Regions from separate parts of the Homo sapiens genome. Here region 1 is linked to region 2. Evidence: promoter capture Hi-C in 16 types of primary human blood cells and fetal thymus (Javierre and others, 2016). All regions are on one chromosome and are shown on one strand. Each heading gives the region's core, a stretch centred on a gene start or on the middle of the fragment in contact. The rest is flanking DNA. Distances are from core to core; before and after follow the strand shown. Region 1 has its middle 17 kb from the start of NEO1. Region 2 holds the start of ADPGK-AS1 (ADPGK antisense RNA 1).

Region 1 (5,962 bases), core at 2,971-5,470, 250 kb after region 2:
GGAGGTGAGACTCGAAGAGGATGGCCATAGATAATAACAAAGAGTCTACTAATTTGCCTTCTAAGGAGGGTGACAGATTCAATAGCCAAAAAGCTGGCCGGGCATGGTGGCTCACGCCTGTAATCCCAGCACTTTGGGAGGCTGAGGTGGGCGGATCACGAGGTCAGGAAATCGAGACCATCCTGGCTAACACGGTGAAACCCCGTCTCTACTAAAAATACTTTTTAAAAAAATTAGCCAGGTGTGGTGGTGGGCGCCTGTAGTCCCAGCCACTCGGGAGGCTGAAGCAGGAGAATGGCGTGAACCCGGGAGGCGGAGCTTGCAGTGAGCGGAGATGGCGCCACTGCACTCCAGCCTGGGCGACAGAGCGAGACTCCGTCTTAAAGTACTACTACTACTACTACTACTACTACTACTACTACTACTACTACTACTACTAAATAACCACAAAGCTTTTACTGAGGGGACTCTAGAAATTTGGGGGCCAAGCTGGTTAGAGCAGTGTGGATGAAACATAGTGGAGAACTGCTAAAGAGAGAGACACAATACTCATCTAGATGATGATGTCTGAGGGTGTTTCCCTGTGGTATGGATGTTAACTCTCTCCTCCATTCCTCCCCTCTCCCCAAAGAAATCTTCAGCAAATTCCATCTTAATTACTGATGCTTTTGTGCCAGTGGATGAAAAGGTGGGACATAAAAAGGTGCTGTAGGCCGGGTGCGGTGGCTCACGCCTATAATCCCAGCGCTTTGGAAGGTCGAGGTGGGAGGATCACTTGAGGTCAGGAGTTTGAGACCAGCCTGCTCGACATGGCAAAACCCCGTCTCTACTAAAAATACAAAAATTAACCAGGTGTGGTGGTGGGCACCTGTAATCCCAGCTACTTGGAAGGCTGAGGCATGAGAACAGCTTGAACCCAGGAGGCAGAGGTTGCAGTGAGCCGAGATAGCACCACTGCACTCCAGTCTGGGCGACAGAGCAAGCCTCCGTCTCAAAAAAAATAAAAATAAAAAGGTGCTGTAGCTGCATGAAGGTGTTGTGTGGTAGAAACCGAGCACACACCACCTTCAGCTGACTGCTGACAGATCAGATAGCCCCCTCTTAGCCCTGGGTGCCTCCTTCCCTGGATAAGATTGAACAAAGGTCTCCACCTGCTTACCTGGTAGAAGTTCCGCATACTTCCTAGCATAAGGTGGAAGGTGAAATCTTGTGACCGCTTTTCCAGCCCATATTTCCCCTAGCAGTATAGATAGAGAGCTAGCTGGGTGATCACTGGGAATTTAGCAACTTTTCCATGAGAATAGTTAGGCTCTTATCTTGGTTCCCCAGGAACATCTTTGGGGTATGGAGTTGGGTGTAGGTGAGCTGAATGTAGAGCTAAAAATGTGGTGAACCTGCCTGCACAGGGGCAACTGGCTTTTAAAAAAAGAGTGTGTGTTGGGTGACTTAAGGGCCCACTACAGACTCCTTCAATTATCAGCTTGGGCAAACAGTCTAAATACGTTGTTTTGTGCTGTAATGAGAATATAGTTCCTTCTGGACAAAGAGAAAAATATGGTGATATTAACTTCTAGCTTGAAGTAGAATAAGTGAAGCTCCAGTCTTTATTAATAAGTAGATGATCCAATGTTAGTGAAGTGGCTTTTATGTGCCAATAAGTTGTGTTTAGCAGTCAGGAATAGAACACATTTATCCCTTCCCCCACAGCCTTCTCCTCAGTCCATGCAAAACAAATTGGAGTGAAACAACACCATCTGCTCATTTCACACTCAGTGAAGAAGCACGTCAACTCCTTCTCAAGGTTAGAAAGTCCAAACTCAAAAAGACACTCCTCTAGTTATGCAGAAAAAAAAAAAAAAAAAAGCCTCCTGAAAGCAAGAACCCCATAGGCTTAGAAGAGTCCCATATTTCCCAAAACATGACATTGCAAGGGCTGAGTTGATGAGGGCTAAAAAGCTGAGGGCTTCCTTATGAGGGTGTCACATGGCTTTGTTTCACTAGCTAATTGTATTTCTATGATTTTGTGCCTCTGATTTAGATGGAAAGAATGGCAGTAGAAAAAGACTATCAATAATTACCATAGTTCTTGTATCCCGGTGTTGGGAGGAAAAGAATAAAGAAGAAAGAGAAGTCTGGCTCAGTTTGAGAAGGCTGTTTTGTTCTGATAATTTTCTTTTGTGTAACAACCACTTTTCTTTTGGCAATCACTTTAAAAAATCTAAATACTTAAATTAAACTCCATTATTTTATCCAGAGATGAGGCTTTGAATTAGGGAGGAAACTGAGCCATTTGAGTGTCCCTCTATTTACTGTGCTCAGCCAAACTCTGCATTCAGAAGTAAAGATAAGAGAAAGTTCTTACTAATTCATATGAATGCCCCAGAAATTAGAGGAGGGCAGTCCTTTGGCCTTGCTAACAATTCTTAATCTCCACACAGTTATAACCAGCCACCTATTTTTAAAATGCTGTTCCCAAGAAGAACCCTGGTGCGATAGGTGGCTGGACTTGTTTTAGAGACCAGATATTTGCAATACAAAGTCTGAGAAGAATCAAGTCTTGCACCAACTATAGCATACCTCACTGGTACTGATAATTTATGATATTCTTGGAGAAACAGGAGATTAACATAAAAGGATAAATTGTGGCATGCCAAGTACCAAACAAGTGTGCATTATGTAAAATCGTACATCTTTTTATTCACAAAGCTCTTGTGCCAGAGTTTTGAGATTTGGTGAACAAGACCACATTAACTTGAATTCATCCATCCATTCAACCATCTGTCAGTGTGTCCATCTGCCCAGCAAACATTATACCACTGCCTATGGTGCCAGCCCTCAGAGTTACTGAGACAAATAAGGCATGGTCCCCGTCCTGGTGGGGGAGTCAGACTTGCAAATCATAATACCTCAATAAGTGAAATCACAGAAGTATGTTCAAGGTGGACAGGTAATCAAAAAGGAGGGAGCAGTTGAAATATGAAAGAAAGATTGCAATTTACCAGGCATGTGCATTCTAATCAGAAGGCACAGCTTGAGCAAAGCATGGAGGCATGACAAAGCACAGGGTATCCAAGGAGCTAGAAGCCGTGTGATATTGCTGCGGGGGTTTGAGTGGCAGTGATAAGAGATGAGCCCAGAGAAATAGGTGCAAGCTAGAGAAAGTCAAACCTCATAGGCCATGTTTAGACATTTCTCTGTAGACAATAGGCAACACTGGTGGGATTTCAGGAGGGCATGTGTTTAGAATAATTTCTGTGATGGCAATGAGGAAAACTATGATGCATAGAGGAGGAAAGTGAGAAAAGTATAGAAAACCCAAAGGGGCAAGTTGTCACTGTGTTCACCAGGCTTTTTAAAGCTTTGATCCTATTTCAGCCTTTGTATTTCCAGACTGGGAAATGCCAATGTGAGACAACTTAGTGTTTGCAATATCACGGATCTCATAGAAACTAATATTATTTTTAATAGTATATTAGGGGTCAAGCATAGTATGGAGTCTGCTTGTGGCCAAGAGGCCTGGGGACTCCAGCTATCCCAGGCCCCACTCAACCAGTGCAAGGCTTGAGGGAATCAGTAGCTCAGCTCTACCTGTAACCCAATGGAGCTGCCCCTTGTGCCTCGATGCTACTCAGAGTCTATCTACATTGGAAACGAATGAAGTAGTAATAAATAAGCTCAACCAGGGTAGATCTGGAATCCAAACTCCAATTACAAGGTTTTTCCCTCCTAATCTAACCACGCTGCCTCTTCAAGCTGTGCTTCAGGAGAATTACTCTCTTGGGGCATAGGAAAATTCATAGTTTATAAAAGCTAAACAAGGAAGCTGGGGATATTCAGAGCTGACCTCCTAGAAGATAATCATGTTCTCTTATTCTATCAAAGTCAGAAGAAGAAAAATGAATCGTGTGGTTCACAGGTTATTTTCCATGTTGATTAGCTCCATATCATTATTCATAGTTGATAAAGTATCTCTGTCATCCGATGTATATAGACACAGGAGTTTTTGGATAAACTATGAAAGAAACTAGTGAGTGAGTGATAAAGCTAGTAACAAAAAAGAAGAGTCCAGTTCTTCTGAGTTACAGCTGACTGTACTAACCGTGGTTACTTTTTCTTTCAGAGTTTTTGGCCAATAATGTTATTTTTAATTTGCTATTTGGCCTATGAATAATTCATTTAAAAGAAAATCTCAATATCTTTTGAGCTTATTTTAGTGTCCTTATTTTAGGGCATTGATTAAAATATCAGTCTGTTTAGCATATCAGCATGCTGCCTGTCAGTCTTCAGGAAAATTTCTTCTCTCTCTGGGCTGTTACACAGTTCTGGTGGATTTGTTGTATTGTATCACATTGCATTATGTTAAAATATTTCCTTCTTGCCATTAACTTTACAATCTGGCTGGGTGTGGTGGCTCGGGCCTGTAATCCTAGCACTTTGGGAGGCCGGGGCAGGAGAATCGCTTGAGCCCAGGAGCTTGAGACCAGGCTGGGCAACATGGAGAGACCTCATCTCTACAAAAAGTAAAAAATTAGTGGGGCATGGTAGCACGCACCTGTAGTCCTAGATACTTAAGAAGCTGAGGTGGGAAGATCACTTGACCCTGGGAGGTAGAGGCTGCAATGAGTTGTGATTGTGCCACTGCACTCCAGCCTGGGCAACAGAGTGAGATCCTGTCTCAAAACAGACAACAAACAAACAAAAAACCCTGAAAACATCAAGACAAAAAGTTACAATCCACTTATTAAAAGCACATTCTAATTTTTTCCTTAATATTTGTTTCATTGTGATTAAAATAGCTAAACTGACAGTTTTGAAGTTATGTCAAGTTGGCAGAAACAGTAAAAGTTATTTTTCCTCAACTTCATTTCTGTCTTCAAAGCACCACATCTAGGACTAAGAAAGAAATGTGTGCTGTTGGTAACATTCTACTTCTTAGTTGTCCTGCTGATACTGCCAACACAGTAGCCAAACAACTGTAATAATTTCTGGAAGGCATCTGTGACCTTGACACTTGGCCCATTATGAACGGCACCAAACCCCTCCAACCATTTCCTATAGGTCTGAAAGCTGCTGTCAGGCAATAAAAGCTTTCAATTGTTACTGACTTGGGTTAGACTCATGTTCTACTTATAAATTTCCATTTAGTGTTTCTATTGGTGTTTGAATCAGGGAAAAGGTTTATTTGAAATCTTAAAATTCATTCCGTATTTCTTTCAATCAATATAAATCAAAAGCAGTCTCAGAAAATTGTCAATAAGTCTGGCCAAGTCAGAAGTAAATGTCAAGTCTTCTGAAGGTTGCATTTTCTCAAGGAAGCACTATTCAAGCATATTTGTTAGCTCAATTAGTCTTGATTTAGTAGCTCCATCAGTGAGCTAAGGCCTCTGGCACTAGCAGAGTAATTTGATTTCTAAGGTGTCAGTAAGAGACTAAAAACTATCCAAAATGGTAAATCCATGTCCTGAAAGCAGACGTACAGATCTTGACATTCTTGGCGGCATAGCAGTCAGGGAAACGTGATGATCTTTGACACTGTCTTCATCTGGGATCAGTGCCCCTCAATGTCACATGCCTGGGAACTCTGATTTTGACCATCAGTTCCCGGAGAGTGCTGGGAGGTGACAGGATGGATGTTCCTTTTGGAATGTCAGTTCCCTGAAGTGATCCTTTTACTTCTTTCACTGTCTTTAGTGGCAAAATGTACACGCTGACAGCCCTGAAGACAGCACTGCAGGGCATGTTTTAGAAAAGGAGAATGTTATTGTCAAAGCCTATCAATCTGGTCTCTTTTCCCCCTCACTTCATCCAGAGGCCACAAAACTAACTTTCTGCTGCTCAGACACGTACTTTGAGAAAGTGTAGTCACATTGTAACTGGGGCTACTTAGGACCTCAATCCAGTTGGGGAAGGGTGGCTTGCATCATCTAGGTGAGGGGTGAAGAGAACGGGACCAAGATAACCT
Region 2 (5,594 bases), core at 1,884-4,383:
CAGAATTCCACCTTTACCATTTTTACCTTCTCCTCTTCTCTTCCTGGGTGATCCTATCCAGTCTCTGGCTTCAACCTAAGTGCCAGTGTCTCCAAAATTTGCAATCCTGTTTCTCAATATATTCCTAAAAACCAGCTTCTCATTTTCAGTAGCTGACAGAGAAGCTTCATCTGAAATCCCATAACAATGTATGTACATTTCTCCTCCTCTGAAATCCAATTTATCTTCTGAAACTTGTTTTTCTTAAATCTCTCTTAATGGCAACAACATGGCATCAACAAGGAACCAGAAATGGGAAAGACCAGGCTTCAATTGCTCCTCTGGCACTTGATAGCTACAAGATCTTGGGCAAATAAATCAATGTGAGAAGACTCGGTGACAATATCTGTTATCTGCCTCCCTCATAAAGTTGTTGCATTAGTCAATTTTCATAATGCTATAATGAATTGCCCGGGACTGGGTAATTTATAAAGGAAAGAGGTTTAATTGACTTACAGTTCAGCATGGCTGGGAAGGCCTCAGGAAACTTACATTCATGGTGGAAGGTGAAGGGGAAGCAAGGCACCTTCTTCTTAAGGTGTCAGGAAGGAGCCGTGCCGAGTGAATAGCAGGGAAGAGCCCCTTATAAAACCAAAGGATCTCATGAGAACGAACTCACTATCAGGAGAACAGAATGGGGGAACCGCCCCCATGATTCAATTACCTCCACCTGGTCTCTCCCTTGATTAGCTTATGGGGATTACAATTCAAGATGAGATTTGAGTGGGGACACAAAGCCTAACCATATTAGTTGTTATAAGATATTTAATACTGGGCTGGGTGTGGAATCACAGCTGTAATTCCAGCACTTTCAGAGGCCAAGATGGGAGGCCAAGGCCTGATCCCAGTAGTTGAAGACCAGCCTGAGCAACTTGGCAAATCCTGTCCCTACCAAGAATATAAAAATTAGCCGGGTGTGGTGGTACATGCCTGTAGTTCCAGCTACTCGGGACACTGAGCATGACAGGTCAAGGCCACAGTGAGCTTGAACATGCCACTGCACACGCCAGCCTGGGTGACAGAGTGAGATGCTGTCTCAAACAGAAAACAAAAACTAAACAAGATATCCAATATTAAAAACCTGTCGTTTTTGACTGCCTTTCTTTACTCCACCACATCCAAACTATTATTCAGGTTATCTCTCAAATCTCACCTCTTCTACATCATTGCCGAGTTTGGTTCGGGCTCCTTTCTCCCTTTACACAAACCCTACAATGGCCTCTTAAACCAGTGTCAGGATGTCAAGATATTCCTCCTTATGAATCACATTAAATGGCATTTTGAGTGTGTCTGTGTGACAGAGAGTGTGAATACGAGTGTGTCTCTAGAGAAGTCAAACTACAACCTCAAAATGAGATTCTGATACAAGTACTACACCTGCTCCCCCTCATCCCTCCTATATCCCCCTATCTTTGGGCTAAAAATCCTCTTTGGGTAATAAATGATGAGAAGCAGTGAAACAGTTTAGAACCACTGCTCAAAATCCACCCTTCACATTCCCACCAATTCTCAACAAAGAACTTGTCATCAGTTAACTACTTACAAACCTTTATGGCTTCCCCATAAAAGGCCCTTCACAATCTGGTCCAACCCTTCGTTCTCAGCATCATCTCTTTACAACCCTCTACCATAGGATTCTCGCTCCAAAACAAGGCCGACCTGTTCCCAAACAAACCATGTACTTTTTCACATTTGGTTCTCTTGCCTAGGTGGACCTGTTCCCACTTTGGCTTGAAGAAATCTCATTTATTTAGTGTCTGTCCTATGAAAGTCACTGTAGTAAAATATATTTTCCAAGATGGTGGCAATAAGATGCCCCATTCCAAATGTTCTTTTCACAATGTGACACTGATGCTCCTCCCATCAAGGTTTGTTCTATGTCCCCTCCCTTAAAACCAGGTGGACCTGTGACTCTGGTAGAAGAGTTCCTATGTGCTTCTAAGGTAAGGTCGTAAAAGGCATTAAGGCTTCTGCCTGGTCCTCGTGGGTTGTTCCTCTTCTAACCATAATTGTTATGGATTGAATTGTCCACCCCCCACCAATTCATATGCTGAAACCCTAATTCCCAATGTGACTATATTTGGACGTAGGGCCTTTAAGGAAGTAGTTAAGGTTAAATAAGGTCATACGGGTGAGCCCTATTCCAAAAGGACCTAGTGTCCACATAAGAAGAATAAGAGGCACCAGGAGTGTACATGCGCAGACTAACTGAAAAGCCAGCTGGCTGCAAGCTAGGAAGAGAGGCCACATCGGAAGCCAATCCTGCCAACACCTTGATCTTGGACTATCAGCCTCCAGATCCACGAGAAAACAGATTTGTTGTTTAATCCACCTAATTTGTGGTATTCTGTTCTAGCAGCCCAAATGACTGATACAATAATATGTTTCCAACAAGTGAGACAGGGGCCTTGCTTCACCCATCTCTGTATCTTAAGAACCTAGCACAGACCTGACACTAACCATGTAGTTGGTGAATATCTGCTGAATGAACGCGCATAAAGCAAGGAAGGACAATTTAATCCCAGCACTTTGGGAGGCCAAGATGGGAGGCTGGCTTGAGCTCAGGAGTTCGAGACCAGCCTGGGCAATATAGCAAGACCTCGACTCTACTAAAAAAAATAAAATAAATAAAAAATTGGCTGGGCGTGGTGGTGCTTGCCTGTCGTCCCAGCTACTCCAGAGGCTGAGGCAGAAGGATCTCTTGAGCTCGGGAGTTCGAGGCTGCAGTGAGCAGTGATTGCACCACTGCACTCCAGCCTAGGCGACAGAGAGAGAGACCCTGTGTCCAAAAAAAAAAAAAAAAAAAAACCCCAAAATTATAGCTAATATCGAATGCTTTTTAAAGCAGGCACTATGCTAGAGAGATTACATGAATGATGTCATTTAATCTTCAGGCCAAGTTTGCTCTACTTTACCCCTCCCGGCCCCAACACTCCACAGAAAGTAGTGAGCTACATGGTAGAGGGCCTGCTTTTATGTGGTGGTTATACATAACTCTGAGATTACGGCAAGAAAGTCAAATCGAACTGAGACAGGGACTAAAGTTAGTGTTTACAGTATCAATACTATAAAGAAAATAATTACATTCCCAAGGAAAAGTACAAAGAAAGGAGGTAGTGTCATTTGGAAGAACCTTAAATATGCAGTGTCACTGAAGTCAGGGGAAGAAAAGAATTTCACGGAGAAGGGCGTGTTCAATGCGTGGAAGGCTGCAGAGTAGATAATGAAGATTCAAAAAGGCAAATCTGAGAGGAGTTGCAGTACAGTCGTGTGGTTTCTAGACTACACGGCGTTTCGAAAGTGGGTAAAGGCAGACATCACGCGTCTTCAAGAAGTTCAGAAGAAAGAGGAAGAGTGTTGTCATAGTGGGTAAGGTCAAGTATCTTTGATTGCAAAACAACAGTCGCCAGAAGAGAAGGGGCTAAAAGTTGGAACGAGGAAGAAGGCTCGGAGAAAGGTGTCAGACAAAGCGGGATTAGCAAGAAGCTGTTAGGGCTGGTCCTACCGGGATGAGAGAAAGGCGCAGAGGCCAGCCGAGTGGAAAGAGCAGCGGTGACGAACCGGGTTCCACTCAGACGTCCGACACTTCTCGCCAAGGGGCCAGCGCGGACAGCAGCGCCTCCCGGGGACCTCTGAGAAGCCCTGTTTCTGCGCGGCTCCGCCCGACCTCCAAGGCCGACCTCGGAGGCTCAGAGACCCAGGCCCCGTTGGCACTCACCCCACTGCCACGCGGCGCCAGCGCCGGACTGGCCGCACGATAAGCGCGTCCCAGGCTGCCGCCAACCGGCCCTCGGGGGAGACGGGTCCCGGGGGCGCAGGCGCGGGCCCCAGACACAGCGAGCTCCAGAGAGAGCGCAGCGCCGAGCCTGGCAGCTCTGGCTCCAGCAGGAAGACGCAGCCCACGGCCAGCGCCAGGAAGCCCGCGTACGCGGAGCCGCGCCACAGCGCCATGGGGACCCAGGCGCCGCACCTGCGCGAACCAACTCCTTTCCTAGCCCGCGCCTCTTCCGGGCTCGGCGCGCGCCGATGTCGACACAAGCGCTACGTCACAAGGGTGCGCCACGGGGCCCCCCAAGGGGCGGGGCGACGGGCGGCGCCAGGACGGAGCGAGGGGGGACCCCACGCCTCAGTCCCAGGCCTGGCACTGCGGTGTTGCCGCCCCGGAGGAGGTGGGACAACGGCGGTTGTGCCAGTCCGGGCGCTGCACCCCCTTCCCGGAACTCTAATCGTATCCCCAAATAGAGGGATGGGAACACATTTGCTTTCGCAGTAAAACGAAACGGACAGATTGTGAAGAAGCGGACAAACCTCGCGTTAATATTCGAACCAGTGGGTGTCCCCATTGGCACGGATCACACCCCCATCTTTTAATCCCTCCCTCCGCCCGTGTCCCCTCATTTGCTAGACTTGTCCTCTTCCAGGCCTAGTGCTCGGCGCTTCTGAGAGGAATAGGCTCACAGAATAGCGGCGCTGCCGAGACCCCTGGGGTACGCGAGGCAGGGGGATTCCGCCCCTTTGGAAGGTGGCCGAGACCCTCAGCCACTAAAGGACTTCGTCGAGACAGGAGAGCCCGCAGAGATCGTTCTCTTCTGGATAACCAGATTATTCCACAATCAAACTTTAACCCTTTTGGGGGCGCTGTTCCCTTTAACAAACTCTGGAAAATGTACACAATCTTGTGCACAACACGAGAGTTATGGACCTGGGTTGAGAAACGCTGCTTTCTTTTGTTCCCCCTTGGTGACATCACTTAAACCCAGCCCTCTCTTCGCTGATACTTTTCTGTGCATGAGGCTAGGTTGAGAGACAGTGAAGCTAGGCTGGGTACCAGCTCATTCTCATCAGCCACAATGCCCGGCCTAGTCTTGTTCCCTGGTTTGTTTCCACTTTTCCAATTCTCTCGGCTCCTGACCTTGGCTTTGTGTCCAGTTTTCCACTGTGACCCTGACCTTTGGACTTGGCAGCGAAACTTTATTTCCCTAACTTTGATCTTGGGCATTAGTCTTCATTCTCCTCAGCCCCACCTCATCAGAACTTCCCCATCCTGGTCATCTACCTTCCCGCAGTTCATCCTACCCAGCCTACCTGACCATGCCATCCCTTTCGACAAAGATATTCACACAGGAACAGATTTGGGCTACCTTGGAAAAGAAGCCAAAGAGCCAGTCAGATCTTTATGAAGCCATGAAAGCCATCTTCCCTAGAGTTGCCTGTCACTTCTCTCTCCTTAGGGAGACATGTCAGTCAGTTCCTAGAGAAACTGCTTCTTCTCACAACCCTCAGCTGTCAGGTTTCCCTGGCACCCAGAGGGGACTGAGCCAGCAGCTGACCTGAAAACAGCGAGTCTGCTGACTGTCCAGCGATCATTTCCCTCTATTGAGAATTTTAACCAAGTTTCTGTTGTCTGTAGTTATTTGATATTGGCTGTGGACCCACAAAGTCACACAAGGCTAAAGGTCAGAACCAGTTAAATATGTTTCCAAGGTGAAGTTTTGGGGAGCACAGGAAGCTGAACTGTGGGAAGGTGATAGAACAGACAGATCTAGAGGACTAGG

Evidence for each region. Contacts are between HindIII fragments. The CHiCAGO score rates a contact against its expected background, and 5 or more counts as called.
Region 1: a contact is called between a fragment that was not itself captured here and the fragment with the promoter of ADPGK-AS1 in region 2, in 3 of 17 cell types (total CD4 T cells, naive CD4 T cells and non-activated CD4 T cells). The highest score is 5.9, in total CD4 T cells.

The regions. Positions count from the first base shown.
Region 1 is chr15:73,032,665-73,038,626 of GRCh38, forward strand. No RefSeq gene overlaps it. Among named protein-coding and RNA genes, the nearest start is that of NEO1, 17 kb to the right of the region's middle. The HindIII fragment of the contact is 1,729 bases long and covers 3,357-5,085 here.
Region 2 is chr15:72,779,702-72,785,295 of GRCh38, forward strand. ADPGK-AS1 (ADPGK antisense RNA 1) reads left to right here and starts at 3,134. Exons shown (of 3, transcript NR_040107.1): 1 at 3,134-5,495. It overlaps ADPGK (ADP dependent glucokinase), which reads right to left and starts at 4,057. Exons shown (of 7, transcript NM_001365225.1): 1 at 3,758-4,057. The coding sequence starts at 3,990. RefSeq lists enhancers at 3,433-3,502, 4,263-4,322, 4,373-4,582 and a silencer at 3,753-4,212. The HindIII fragment of the contact is 5,666 bases long and covers 163-5,594 here.